Linked DNA regions of Homo sapiens: all the other regions are linked to region 3. The links are contacts of gene promoters, found by promoter capture Hi-C in blood cells and fetal thymus (Javierre and others, 2016). All regions are on one chromosome and are shown on one strand. The core of a region is centred on a gene start or on the middle of the fragment in contact, and the rest is flanking DNA. Distances in the headings are between cores, read along the strand shown.

Evidence for each region. Contacts are between HindIII fragments. The CHiCAGO score rates a contact against its expected background, and 5 or more counts as called.
Region 1: a fragment that was not itself captured here is called in contact with the fragment with the promoter of PLPPR5-AS1 in region 3 in 1 of 17 cell types (endothelial precursors); the score reaches 5.7 in endothelial precursors.
Region 2: a contact is called between a fragment that was not itself captured here and the fragment with the promoter of PLPPR5-AS1 in region 3, in 1 of 17 cell types (M1 macrophages). The highest score is 6.1, in M1 macrophages.

What each region holds. Positions count from the first base shown.
Region 1 is chr1:99,729,050-99,733,463 of GRCh38, forward strand. FRRS1 (ferric chelate reductase 1) reads right to left here. Exons shown (of 17, transcript NM_001361041.2): 8 at 601-699. Among named protein-coding and RNA genes, the nearest start is that of FRRS1, 35 kb to the right of the region's middle. The HindIII fragment of the contact is 2,211 bases long and covers 296-2,506 here.
Region 2 is chr1:99,681,852-99,686,110 of GRCh38, forward strand. All of the region lies in intron 3 of PALMD (palmdelphin), which reads left to right. Among named protein-coding and RNA genes, the nearest start is that of PALMD, 38 kb to the left of the region's middle. The HindIII fragment of the contact is 5,437 bases long and covers 269-4,259 here.
Region 3 is chr1:99,001,532-99,005,677 of GRCh38, forward strand. PLPPR5-AS1 (PLPPR5 antisense RNA 1) reads left to right here and starts at 2,745. Exons shown (of 3, transcript NR_033940.1): 1 at 2,745-3,114. It overlaps PLPPR5 (phospholipid phosphatase related 5), which reads right to left and starts at 3,330. Exons shown (of 6, transcript NM_001037317.2): 1 at 2,904-3,330. The coding sequence starts at 3,140. RefSeq lists an enhancer at 2,188-3,162. The HindIII fragment of the contact is 4,191 bases long and covers 177-4,146 here.

The DNA.
Region 1 (4,414 bases), core at 151-2,650, 730 kb after region 3:
CCCATGGGAAGGCTGTGCACAGTTATGTCATTAAGTAATAGCTACTGCTCCGTCAGAGCTCATTTGCTGTCATTAAGTGATAGCTACTGCTCTTTCAGAGCTCATTTGCTTGTCAACTGTCCTGCAAAAAAGACACTTCTCTACCAGAAATAGCCCACCTTTGACACACATGCCAACAAAGGGCACTTAAGACAACTGTCCAAGGCATCTCCAGCCTTCATCAAATGTGCTCCTCTTTCTCACTAGTCAAGAAATTTTGTCACTAATGTCATCCTGTCTTAGAAACCCGTCTGTAAGCTTTTGAAAGGAAGCTGATGCCCTGACCATCTTAATAAACCATAAAGTACTTTTTTGTAGGATACAACCAAAAGGATGTAAGTGACACAAGCAAGAATTCATCTTTTCCTACAACAGAAACTTCTGAAGTGTAGAAAAGTTTCTCAGAAATCATTATGAGAGGAGCCCTGCTGGCAGGCCCCTGCTCAGGCTAGGTGGAACTGTGGGGGTTGGAGGCAATCTAGCAGCACAGCCACGCCAGTGATAGCCACACAGCCGGAAAGCGGGTCTCCAGGTGGAGGTTCTCAGAATTTTCACACCTACCCTGGAGTCCATTACAGGGTGACTTCGCCCCGTTAAATGGGAAGGCTGGATGTACACAGTCTGATCTTCATGAATACACAGATAAGCATCATCATCACCCTGAAAAACAATTGCAAATGAGAAAAAAAGCTCAAAGGAATTTCAGCATTTTATTTTCTCTTTTTAAAAAAGTACATCAGGAAACCAAATATTATGTGATGCTTTGAAAACATAATTTACTGAATCATGAATGATGCTATGAATTCTAGAGAACTGGCTATCTGATTTGCGAATAGCAAATAATTTTGTTATAATACAAAAGCACTAGAATTTCAGTGTAAAATAATAGATTAAGATAGATATATAACATGTTTATATGTTCATAAACCCATCACTAATCGAACACCACTTTAATATTTTCATGTATATTCATCCAAACCTATTTGTATTATACCTATTTTTTCCTTCCCAAATGGGAAAATATAGAGTTCTGTTACCTTTTTTCAATTAACTTACCATAAACAATACTCCAGATATTTATTTATTAATAAATATCTATATCCTACATATTTTAATGACCAAATACACTGCATTGTACTGGATATTTTTTGGTAACTTCTAAGATGGAAGACACTGTAAAGAAATATTGCTACATAGTGTACATATTCAATAGATTTAATGTTATATAACTGAGGCAAAAATACCTGCACTCAAGGAGGAATTAGTCAAACAATCTACCTCTTATCTATCCTTTAGTCTCCAAAGATCCTTAACTCTGAAAGTTAGATCTTATTCTTTAAAGTGATAATCAAGCCAGACACAGTGACTCACACCCATAATTCTAGCACTTTGGGAGGCCAAGGCAGGAGGATTGCTTGAAGCCAGGAGTTTGAGATCAGCCTGGGCAATATGGTGAGACTTCATCCTAAAAAAAATTTTTTAAAAATCAGCCAAGCGGGCCGGGCGAGGTGGCTCACGCCTGTAGTCCCAGCACTTTGGGAGGCCAAGGCGGGCAGATCACGAGGTCAGGAGATCCAGACCATCCTGGCTAACATGGTGAAACCCCGTCTCTACTAAAAATACAAAAAATTAGCTGGGCATGGTAGTGGGCGCCTGTAGTCCCAGCTACTCAGGAGGCTGAGGCAGGAGAATGGCGTGAACCCGGGAGGTGGAGCTGGCAGTGAGCCGAGATCGCGCCACTGCACTCCAGCCTGGGCAACAGAGCGAAACTCAGTCTCAAAAAAAAAAAAAAAAAAAATCAGCCAAGCATGGTGATGCATGCCTGTGGTCCCAGCTACTCAGAAGGCTAAGGCAGGAGAATCACTTGAGCCCAGGAGGTCAAGTCTGCAGTGTGGCATGATCGTGCCACTGCACACCAGCCTGGGCAACTGAGGGAGACCTTGCCTCCAAAAAAGAGAAATAAAACAGAATAAAATAAAGTGATAATCAAAAAGCAGACTGTCAATTAATAGGGGGAAAAAGAATGAAAAAGAATACCAAAAAAGAAGCAGACTGTAACTTCAAAGTACATTTAAACAATGGCACAAAGGAATAATCTTGATTTTAAGTTATTATCCATGGTTTGGTCTTTCACTTGGTTTCTCCATAAACTATCTAACAAGGTTCTTTATGTGCTTTAGTCACCCAATTCCTTAAACAAGGTCCAAGACTACCCAGTTATAACAAATCTTGCTATAAATTCCAATATTAGATTCTAACATACTTCTATAGTTTCAGATTCAACTTTATTTTTAAATGTTCCACTTTTAAAAACTCTCAAGGATGTACTCTTAGCAAAGTAATTATGTACTGTTACACATATTACAGTAAAATCAGAATTAGCCCAATTCCAGATAAGAAATTTGGAGCAATCATGACTTAAACCAGGAGTCAACAAACCATGGCCAGCAAATCAAATTCAACCTAAAGCTTGTTTCTATATAGCTCATAGTTTAAGAATGACTTCTACATACTTAGGTGGTGAAAAGAATGTTTCATGACAAATGAAAATAAATCAAACTGAAATTCAATGTCCATGTTTCATTGGAACACAGCCACATTTATTCATGTACATATCATCTATGGCTGCTTTTATACTACAACAGAGTTTAGTAGCTACAACAGAGACCATATTGCCCACGAACTCTAAAATAGTTACTACCTGGTCCTTACAGAAAACGTTTTTTGAACCCCGATTTATTTTTTATTTTTTAAAAAAGTAGAGATGGATTCTCGCCCTGTTGCCCAGGCTGGTCTTGAAATCTTGGGCTTAAGCAATCCTCCTGCCTCAGCCACCCAAAGTGATGAGACTACAGGTGTAAGCCACCATGCTGGGCCTGAACCCTGATTTAAACAATGCATGTTTTCTATAATATCCATCATGAATGAGACATAGAAATTCTTTTGTTACACAAAAAATTTTAATACAAATAATGGTTGATTTGAGGCAAACTGAGGATGAGAAGTCAAATAAAATCAATACAAGTAGACCTCCCAAATATTAGAGAAGATGATGGGGATAGACAGCAGGTAACTCTCAGTTCTCACTATTCCAAATGAAGAGTAAGTGAACGTGCTACTCCAACCTCAGGCTCCAGGCAGTTCTAGAAACCTCAAGTTTGAAAGCATAAAAGTACACCCTATAAGAACTTCCACCAAATCCCTGGGTTGTACTGAAGCTCTCTCCCCAGTTTGCCCCTCTCAAGTCAAGCATTTAGAGAGCATCCTATGAGAGAACATTAAGCTGGACACTGTGGGAGAAACAAAAATGACTTTATTATAAGAATATGGCTCTTATAACCTAAAGCTATATTTTATTGAGCCAGACAGATAGGTAAAGTGACATGAAAAGACAAATTATGTATGGCCAGAGAATTGAAAATGGCTTATCAGAAAAGACAGTAATTAAGCAGACCTTAGAAGATAAAACATATTTATAGGAGGACAAGGTAAAGATGAGATTAAAGGAAAGATTTTCCAAGTTGAAGGACTTCTAGGACCAATGATATAGAAATATGAAAATTTTAAGAAACAGGTAGTTTTGCTAGCTAAAATATATAAAGGATAAAAAGAGAGCTCTAAGGCTGAAAATTCTAGAAGTATTCCCAAAGTATTGAGCACCATGCTTTAAGAAAAGAACAGTTTTTCTATAATTATTATATAATTCTATAATTACTAAAGTTTTGCCAAAGGTTTGGAGGGATATTTTTGAGACAATTTTTTTTTTTTTTTTTGAGGCAGGATCTTGTTCTGTCACCTAGGCTGGAATGCAGTGGTGCAAATACAGCTCACTGCAGCTTTGACCTCCTGGGATCAAGTGATCCTCCCACCTCAGCCTCCCAGGTATCTGGAACCACAGCTGCATGCCACTACGCCCAGCTAATTTTTTATGAATTTTTTGTAGAGATGAGGGTCTCGCCATGTGTTCCCAGGCTCATCTTGAATTCCTGGGCTCAAGCAATCCTCCCACCACAGACTCCCAAAGTGCTGGGATTATAGGCATGAGCCACCACGCCCAGCCAAGACGATCTTAAATGTGGCTTGGGGAGAAAATTCCAATGGCTGTGTGAAGGATGAAATGAAAGAGGAAATCATGGAAGCAAGAGGACTAATGGCGGGTTACTACAGCAGTCCAGGAAGCAGACAGTAAAACTACAAGCCAAGTCAGAGATAGTGACAATGCAACAAAGAGAATGAAAGAGGTACGTCAAAGATAGAATCAGAAGTACCTGGAGATCAGTAGCAGTGAACATATTAGCACCCAAATCTTGATTTCTAGATCTATTCCTACTAAAAGGAAATAAAGCTCTTTTGAGAAATGATGAAATGCATGAAA
Region 2 (4,259 bases), core at 1,737-4,236, 680 kb after region 3:
ACGAACCACTGTACTAGATACACAAAAATTGCCCTGCCTACTAGTTGCAATTTTTGTTTTATGCTCCTTAAGGACAGTCAGTCCTCAAAAACTCAGTGCATTATCTGGTGTACAGGTTGTCAAACCTCCTCTTCTCCATTGCTGGGCTACTGCTGACTTCTGACCAAGTGGAGGAGGTTGCGGGGGTTCTGGGAGCATCCAGTTCCTTACTCTCAGTTATGCTTTCTAAGTCTCTCATCATTTCCATTAGCATTCTGATCTTTTAGAAAGCTTTTCTAGAGCAGCAAATCTCTAACATTCATCTGATATTTATATTGTCCATAAATATTTGAAGTATCAAATCAACATACAAAAATAAGAAGTCAAGTTTTGCATTGAAGTGGAAATTTTAGGAAATGTTCTACATCAGTAGGCATCTCCTGTTAGAGGTTTGTGATTCTAAGTAATTAGTACCAAGATGTTTCCTAGTTATCCTTTTCAACTCAGAGTTGGCTGTGACTAAGGGATAAAGAATGGGAGGGAGGTGTTTGTTTATGTTTAGTTTTCACAAACATGTCATGATGTATTGTGAGACCACAGCGACTTATTAATGCAACTTTCATCCAGTGACTTGAAAACCTTCAAAAATATTCATTAACAGATACGCTGATGAGGTTTGCAGGCTTTCAACCTCATATTCTTACCATATTAGTCTAAAGAGATTCTTGGGATGAATCATATGGCATTACATTACCCACGGCTTTATCTTCAGAGAGAAACAACAACAAACACCAGTGCATTTCAAAATTCCCTAAGGTGTCATTGGCCAAGCAGACCAGGAGCTTTGTCTCTATGCCCCAGGAAAAGAAAGGGGCAGAGACAGGAAGAAACTAGCTGAAGTCATCGGGCTCATGCCTGTAATCCCAGCACTTTGAGAGGCCGAGGCAAGCAGATCACTTGAGGTCAGGAGTTTGAGACCAGCCTGGTCAACATGGTGAAAGCCCATCTCTACTAAAAATACAAAAATTAGCCAGGCGTCGTGGTGCACTCCTGTAGTCCCAGCTACTCAGGAGGCTGAGTCAGGAGAATCGCTCGAACCTGGGAGGCAGAGGTTACAGTGAGCCGAGATTGCACCACTACACTTCAGCCTGGGTGACAGAGCAAGACTCTGTCTCCAAAAAGAAAGAAGGAAAGAAAGAAAGAAAGAAAGAAAGAAAGAAAGAAAGAGAGAGAGAGAGAGAGAGAGAGAGAGAGAGAGAGAAAGAAAGAAAGAAAGAAAGAAAGAAAGAAAGAAAGAAAGAAAGAAAGAAAGAAAGAAAGAAAGAAAGAAAGAAAGAAACGAACACCCTATGAAGTTGTTAACATTGACCAGATCTCTAAATGTTGAATTGCTCCAGATTCAGGCCTTGGAATTCTTATCTCCTTCACTTTCTAGGGAAACTTATCCACTCCTGTGGTGATAAATACCAACTCCCAAATGTATATCTTCAAACCCAGACTTCTCTGAGCTCCAGTCTTGTATATCCAACTGTCTTCTCCATATCACACTTGATTGTCTCAAATTTAACACATCCCCCACAAATCCCCTTTCTTCTCTCTCCCAGATTTCTTCAGCCAATTGTATTGCATGTTTCCAATTATTCAGGTCACAAACAGTGGAATCACCTTGACATCTCCCTTTCTCTTATCCCCTGCATGTAATCATCAACAAATTCTGACAGCTCTTTCTGTCAAATATTTCTAGAATCCAACCACTTCTCACCCTTCTACTGGCAACCAACCTGGATTACACCATCTTCATCTAGATTTTTAGCACAATTGACCTCCATGTTTGCCCCATCCAGTCTATTTTCCACACAGCAGCCAGTGTAACTGTTTACATTTCAAGTCATAGCATGTTTCCTCTCTGTTCAAAATTCCAGTGGCTTCCCCAAAGCCCTTCCATGCACAAGGCCCTGCCTATCTGGTCATCTGCCTCCTCTCTGACTTCATTTCACCTTTCTACTCTCTTGGCTCTTCCTTCGCTCTCTATAGTTACTCTTCCATCTCTCTGGAGCACACTCCCTTTGAAACCCTCATGTTTCCCGCTCTCACTTCCTTCATGTCTCTGCTCAAATGACACTTTATCAGAGAAACTTCCCTCACCACACTGTGTGAAATAGTGCCCCCTCCTCAGGCTTTCTCTATATTCTTTATCTTGCTGTTTACAGCCCCTATCCTGCTTTTCTCATCAAAAATATTTTTTCTTCATAAATAAATGTGTTTATGTGTATATATATGTATGTACATACATCTGCAATATATACATATTTGTATTACACATTTATTAATGCAGGGATTGACAAACTATGGCCCAGGACCAAATCTAGCCCTGGCCTGATTTTGTACAGACACAAGCTAAAAATGGTTTTTATATTATTAAAAGGCTGTAAAAGAAAAAGGGGAAAAAAGATGAATAAGAAACAGAAAGCATATGTGGACTGCAAAACCTAAAATATTTGGCATCCGGCCCCTTATAGAAAAAGGTTGCCAGCCCCTGTATTGTCTCCCACTAGAACATAAACTCCTTGAGCTCAGGGACTTTGTTTTGGTCACTGTAAGATCCCCAGCACATAGAAGAGTGCCTGGTTCAAAGTAGATGCTAAGTAAATATTTTTAAAAGAATGAATGAATAAAGACAATGAGTTTTATTGTTTGTTTGTTTGTTTGTTAGCCCAGATCTCACTCTGTTGCCCAGGCTGGAGTGCAATGGTATGATCATGGCTCACTGCAAGCTCGACCACTCGGGCTCAAACAATCCTCCCACCTCAGCCTCCCATGTAGCTGAGACCACAGGTGTATGCTCAGCTAATTTTTTTTAATATTTGTAGAGACTGAGGTCTCACTATGTTGTCCAGGCTCATCTCTAACTCCTAGGCTCAAGCAATCTTCCTGCCTCAGCTTCCCAAAGTGCTGGATTATAGGCATGAGCCACTTCTCTCAGCCCAACACTGAGTCTTAGTGAGGTCAGGTGACTTGTCTAAGGTCACACAGGAAGCTGGCAGATGAACCAGGTTTCAAACCCAGGTCCACCTGATTCCACAGCTAGGCCCTGATGTGCAAGAGCTGCTTGAAGCAATGATTTGAACCTTCTTGTTTTCTACCAAAAGGCTTTCCTTTGTAGACTGTCTCTAACAGGCAAATTAGGTAAGCACCCTGTGGGACAGGGGATGAAAAAAGAAAGACATACAGTATGTTGCAGAAAACTTTTAAAAATTATATCATAACATATTTACATCTGATATCAACCATATTCAATGTACTTTCATATACATCATCTCTTAGTGTCACCACATATCTGTCTGTATATGGTAATGAGCGTAATCTGTAATTATGCTCATTACACACATTACAAAACAGAGTTTCAGAGAGGTTAGGGGAACTGGCTTTCACAAGAAATGAGTAGCAGAGACAGAATTGAATCCAGATTTATCACTTTTAGTGCAGAGCTTTCCCCTTTACCAAATTGGACCAACATATATCCCCACAGCTCTGCTGAAGGGTAAAAGTGCTGCCATGGATGTGGAGGAATTTTAATAAAATGGCAGTCACAGTTCAGTCACTTCTAAGAAACCAGGGGCTACTCCATTTCACTTAGAGGTCTGTGGCATACAAGAAAACCTCCTCAGTTATAAACGGCAATCTACCAATGGCCAGAGGCAGCAGCAAAGTAAGAACTTTGAAACTGAAGCAATGAGCAAGAGAGCTGTCAAGCTGACCACATCTTGGGCTTTTACTGGTGTGACAATAGTGCAGCATTTTTGAGCTGCCAGGCCCATGACCATCTTCAAGAAGGAAGCCAAGAAAACTGACAGTTCTCTTAGCTGACACGAATATCCACAGCTGTCACCTCCTGGACCAGCTGCTGAATCTAATCAGCCATCCTCTGAGGCAGCTGACTTTAGAGCCTTAGTGTATTTGGCTGAGAAACCATGTGTGTTACGTGGCTGCCAAGGGCCAGCCTTCTGCGTGATTGCCAGTGTCTCTATGTTTTTATAGAGGAGAGGTCACGATGCTGCCCCCTGGAGTTCATTTGAATCTGACACGCAGCTGTACACTGGCCAAGATACCAGCTCAGAATGCTTGCAACAGTCTAGTTTCAAATGTCTGTCTCTTTGTTGCTGTAAGTTCCTTATGCTGTGTCAGGCCATGTGTGCCCTACCCCCCGCCCAGAAAATGTAGCCTCTATAAACAGCAGCAGTTGAAGCTACTGTACTATATTTGGTCCATTTCTGCATCTC
Region 3 (4,146 bases), core at 1,495-3,994:
AAAATTCAAAATATATATTGTTTTTAATTTTTACATAAATGAATTTAGCAAGTATGAAACAAATCTGTAGACTGTGGTAGTGAGGAGAACGACTTTTCAAAATTACTCTCAAGAACTAGAAATGAGTTTGAAAGTTAAAGATATATATATATATATATATATATATATATATATGAAGCTTTATTACTACAGGACAAAAAATGTAAAAGAGACTATTTGAGGCATTTATTTAGAAGAACGATTCATGAGCGAATTGAATTTTCATCCTGTAATAGAAAAACCACACTTGAGAGTATGACAGAGTAGGGGGAGAATTCTGGGTGTAACATTCTTAGCCTTGGTCCTTGGAGAAGATACTTAATCTTTCTAAGCCATCATGTTCCCAAATGTTAGATAAGAATAATAATTATTGCTTTCAGAGATAATGCAAATATTAGAAGGATATAAGGTATGTAGAAAGTTTATTAGAGTATATGGAAGAAAGTAGTAACTCAACAAATGATGGGTACTGTTAATATTATTATTATTATTTTGATGCCCAAGTGAGCATGCTAACCCAGCGTTCTTGAGAAGAGTGGAGAGGCAGAGCTGCCCTTACTGCTCCCAGCTCCTCACATGGTGACAGAGTGCACTATTCCTAGAAGCAGAAGGGAAAACAAATGCCAGCAGCACAGCCATCCTCCCAAACCTACCACTTCCTTCTCTTCTAAACTGATTCCCAAACCCATTCTCTTGTACCTAAAAGAACTAAAAGCCAAAACATCGAAATCAAGTTGGATTCTGACTTCAGAAAAATCTATCCACTTATATTCTCAATGCCTGCCTGACCAGCCAGCTTCCACCTTCTTTCAGAGAACAAGCTCTTTGGAAGCAATGTAAGTCGCATGGCATTCAGGCATCCGTCCTATAGGCATACAAATGCCATACCCACCTTTTTTTTTGTTTTCAGATATTCCTTATTATCTGAACCTCACTTTCTTCAAATATTAATTGGAGATAATATCTCCTGAAAGAGCTGCTCTGAGAAATATACGTGACTATGACTATTCGGTACCCAAAATAGAGTAGGCACTAAATAGTGACTAATTCATTCTTTTTCTCCGTCCTACATTCCTCCTAAGTGGAGAATCATCCAAATCATTGGGTGAGTGTGCTCTCGTCTCTAACTAGCACCTGCCACCATGATTGGATGGTTAGGACTGAAAAGTGCTATCTTATTTAAATAAGACATAGAATGGGAATTAAAGGATGAGTTACAGACATTATTGATTATAGCTATGACCAAACCAATGAGCTGAAAGTGACAGGCTCTTCCTTTTTCTTTAAAACAATCCTTGAAAAATATCTGAGCTATTTAGTCTCCTGGAAAACTGTACATGGGAAACCCCGATCTCCAGAAAGTAAAAAGGGCCCCCAAAAATCGACCTTTTTTTTTTTCTCTGCCAGCTTGTCAAATGGAGAAAAGAGAACACAAACATGAAGGCTGGATTTGGGGCTTCTAACACATTTTAGCAACTTATTTTACATATATATATATATATATATATATATATATATATATATATGTAAAACATTATCTGGGGCAAGGTCTAACACATTTCAAACCATTATGACAGAGGCAATTTGAAGTCAACTATCACAGGACATGTGATAAAGTTACTTTAAGGTTATCAAGAAATTACTTGATTTGTTCACTGATTTCTATCTTATGTGTTAGGAACTTTTCATTATTTTACAAATTAGTAAGTCATTGCTCCTAAAATTAAAAAAAAAGATGAACATCCAAACTTAATGGATTCAACAGACATTCTTAACATTCAATTTACACATTTAGCTACTGAAAATAAAACTTCATTCTTCCTTTCCCCTTCATTTTCTTATTTCCCGTTTGTTATCTGTTGAGGGAGAGAGAGAGCGCGCATCACAGGAAGGGAACCTCCAATACTTTGTCAATATTAAAGGAACCATAAAATATCAGGTTTTCTAAAGAAACACCAACAATTCTCCTAAGAATAAATATGTAGCATATTCACATATGTAAATTACTATAATAAAATTAATATTATTATGTGTAATTTATCCCCAATAATTTCATATGTATATATGTGAGGTGTGTGTATACACGTGAGTGTATCTGTATAGTCATTCTTTCTCTCACACACACATACACTCAATAAATCCAAAAGGCATGCTCTGTGAGGTTCTAAGAGAAAAGGACTTAAATTGCCCAGGGAGCGGAGCAGCCTTTAAATAAATCTGAAGTGCTCTTGTAATTGAGGTACAGCTCCTGCTTTTCAGCAAAGCACTGGTGCTGAGGCCTCTTCATTTAGAAATTCTCAAATTCTTTTTTCAGATATTTGTTCCCTGGTCAGCTTAGTCCCATTGGCACTTTCACCTGAAAAGGAGGGAGGTGGCGAAATAGAAATACGTGCCCCGACTCGGGAAGTGGGAGTCCCTTTCACACCCCAGCAATTGATCCCCTCTCTCCTCGCCGGCCCGCCCGCCGCTGCTCTTCTTCCAGGCACAATCGAAGAGGAGGCAGTGAGCGAGTCAAGGCCACAGAGTGGATGGAATCAAGGTTCACCCCCAAAGCTCACCTCCTTTGCAACCCGGATCCCCACTCCTCACCACCTACGGCCCCTCTTCCCTTCCATCCCCGCCCAGTCACCCAACGCTGAAGCCACCGCGGGGTGTGGGGGGGTGACGTGTGGGAAGAGCTGGGGGCTTCCTTCGCACCCACCCTCACGCGCCCTAGAATGTCCTCTGGGGAAGGGGCTGCCCATAACTTGGAGGAACTTAGAAGGCAAAACCTACTGCGCCCCAACCCTTAGAGGGGCCTCAACCCCGAAGGCGAGGGGCGAGATCAGGGACTCGGCGACGAGGGCGAGCGCCCCCGGGCTTACCACGAGCACGGGGACCCCGGCGGCCAGCGAGTAGAGGAGCACGGGGGGCACGGCGCTGCTGTCCTCCGGGCCCGGGTAGGGTTTGCGGTAGGCGCTGTCGTGGCAGAAGAAGCCCTGCACGTTCACGGTGAACGTGTCCGTATACTCGAAGTAGTACGCCAGCATCACCGTCCCTGCCATGATCACCATCTGGAAATAGAGCATGCTGCTGGTGAGCGCCGCGGGCAGCAGGGGCATGCACGCCTCCCGGGCCGGGCCGAGCCGAGCCGAGCGGGCGGTCGACGCGGTGGGCCCCCTCCCCGGTCCGCCGAGGCAGCCACCGGGGGCGCGGCGGCGGAGGCGGCGGGAGGACGAGGCACGGGAGGCGGGATGGAGCCGCTGGAGGAAGAGGCGGAGGCAGGTCCGGGCTTCGAGGCGCCGGCAGGCTGCAGAGGAGGCGGCTACCCCCGGACGAGCCCCCTCTCCCCTGCCCGCCCCCTGCCCGCCGCAAGCGCCGCCCGCCCCGGCGCGGGGTCGCGAGGGAGGGCGGGGAGTCCCGGGCGACGGGCAGCGGCCGCTGCGCCCCTGCACGAGACCATTCGAGAAGCAGCGGCGCTGGGTCAATCCCCCAGGCTAGCCCGGAGGAGGCGCTGCGTGGGCGGACGGGGCGGCAGCCGGCGGGACAGCGGCACCTGTACCCCTCACAGGGCGGACGCTGTGGGGCTGGAGAAGCTCCTGGCGGGGGTAAAATCAAAAGGGGGGGAGGGGAGGCAGTAGAGATGGAGCTTCCAGAAACTCTTCCGAGGCACCAGCTGAGAGGTTTAAGAAACCCGCACAACGCCTGGGAAAATGGTGCGTGGACGCGTCTTCCGAGCGCAAAGCCCACCAAGGCGCAAAGTGCCGATGCGGCGCCCAGAGTTTCAACCGGTGCGTTCAGCCTGCATCCCTCGAATTCCTTGACCCAGCCCGGGGCTGGAGCCTGGCGGTGGTTTCTAGGCGCTGTTAGAAAAATCTCAGCGAGGTTTCTTTGCCTCCTCTGCAGCTTCCTAGGGCTTTGTGTATATATATATGTATATACAAATAATAATAGAAATCATAGCCCAGTAGCTCCCGAAGCATCATCTCTTGTACAGCGGCCCCTTCCTGGATCCATGCATTCTCTTGCTCATCTTTTCAGTCTGTCTTTATTAGCTGCTTGTGAGAGGAGGCATTGCAGATTCCAGGCACTGAGCGGTCCCAGCCACCAGGGTAGGAAAAAGGACTA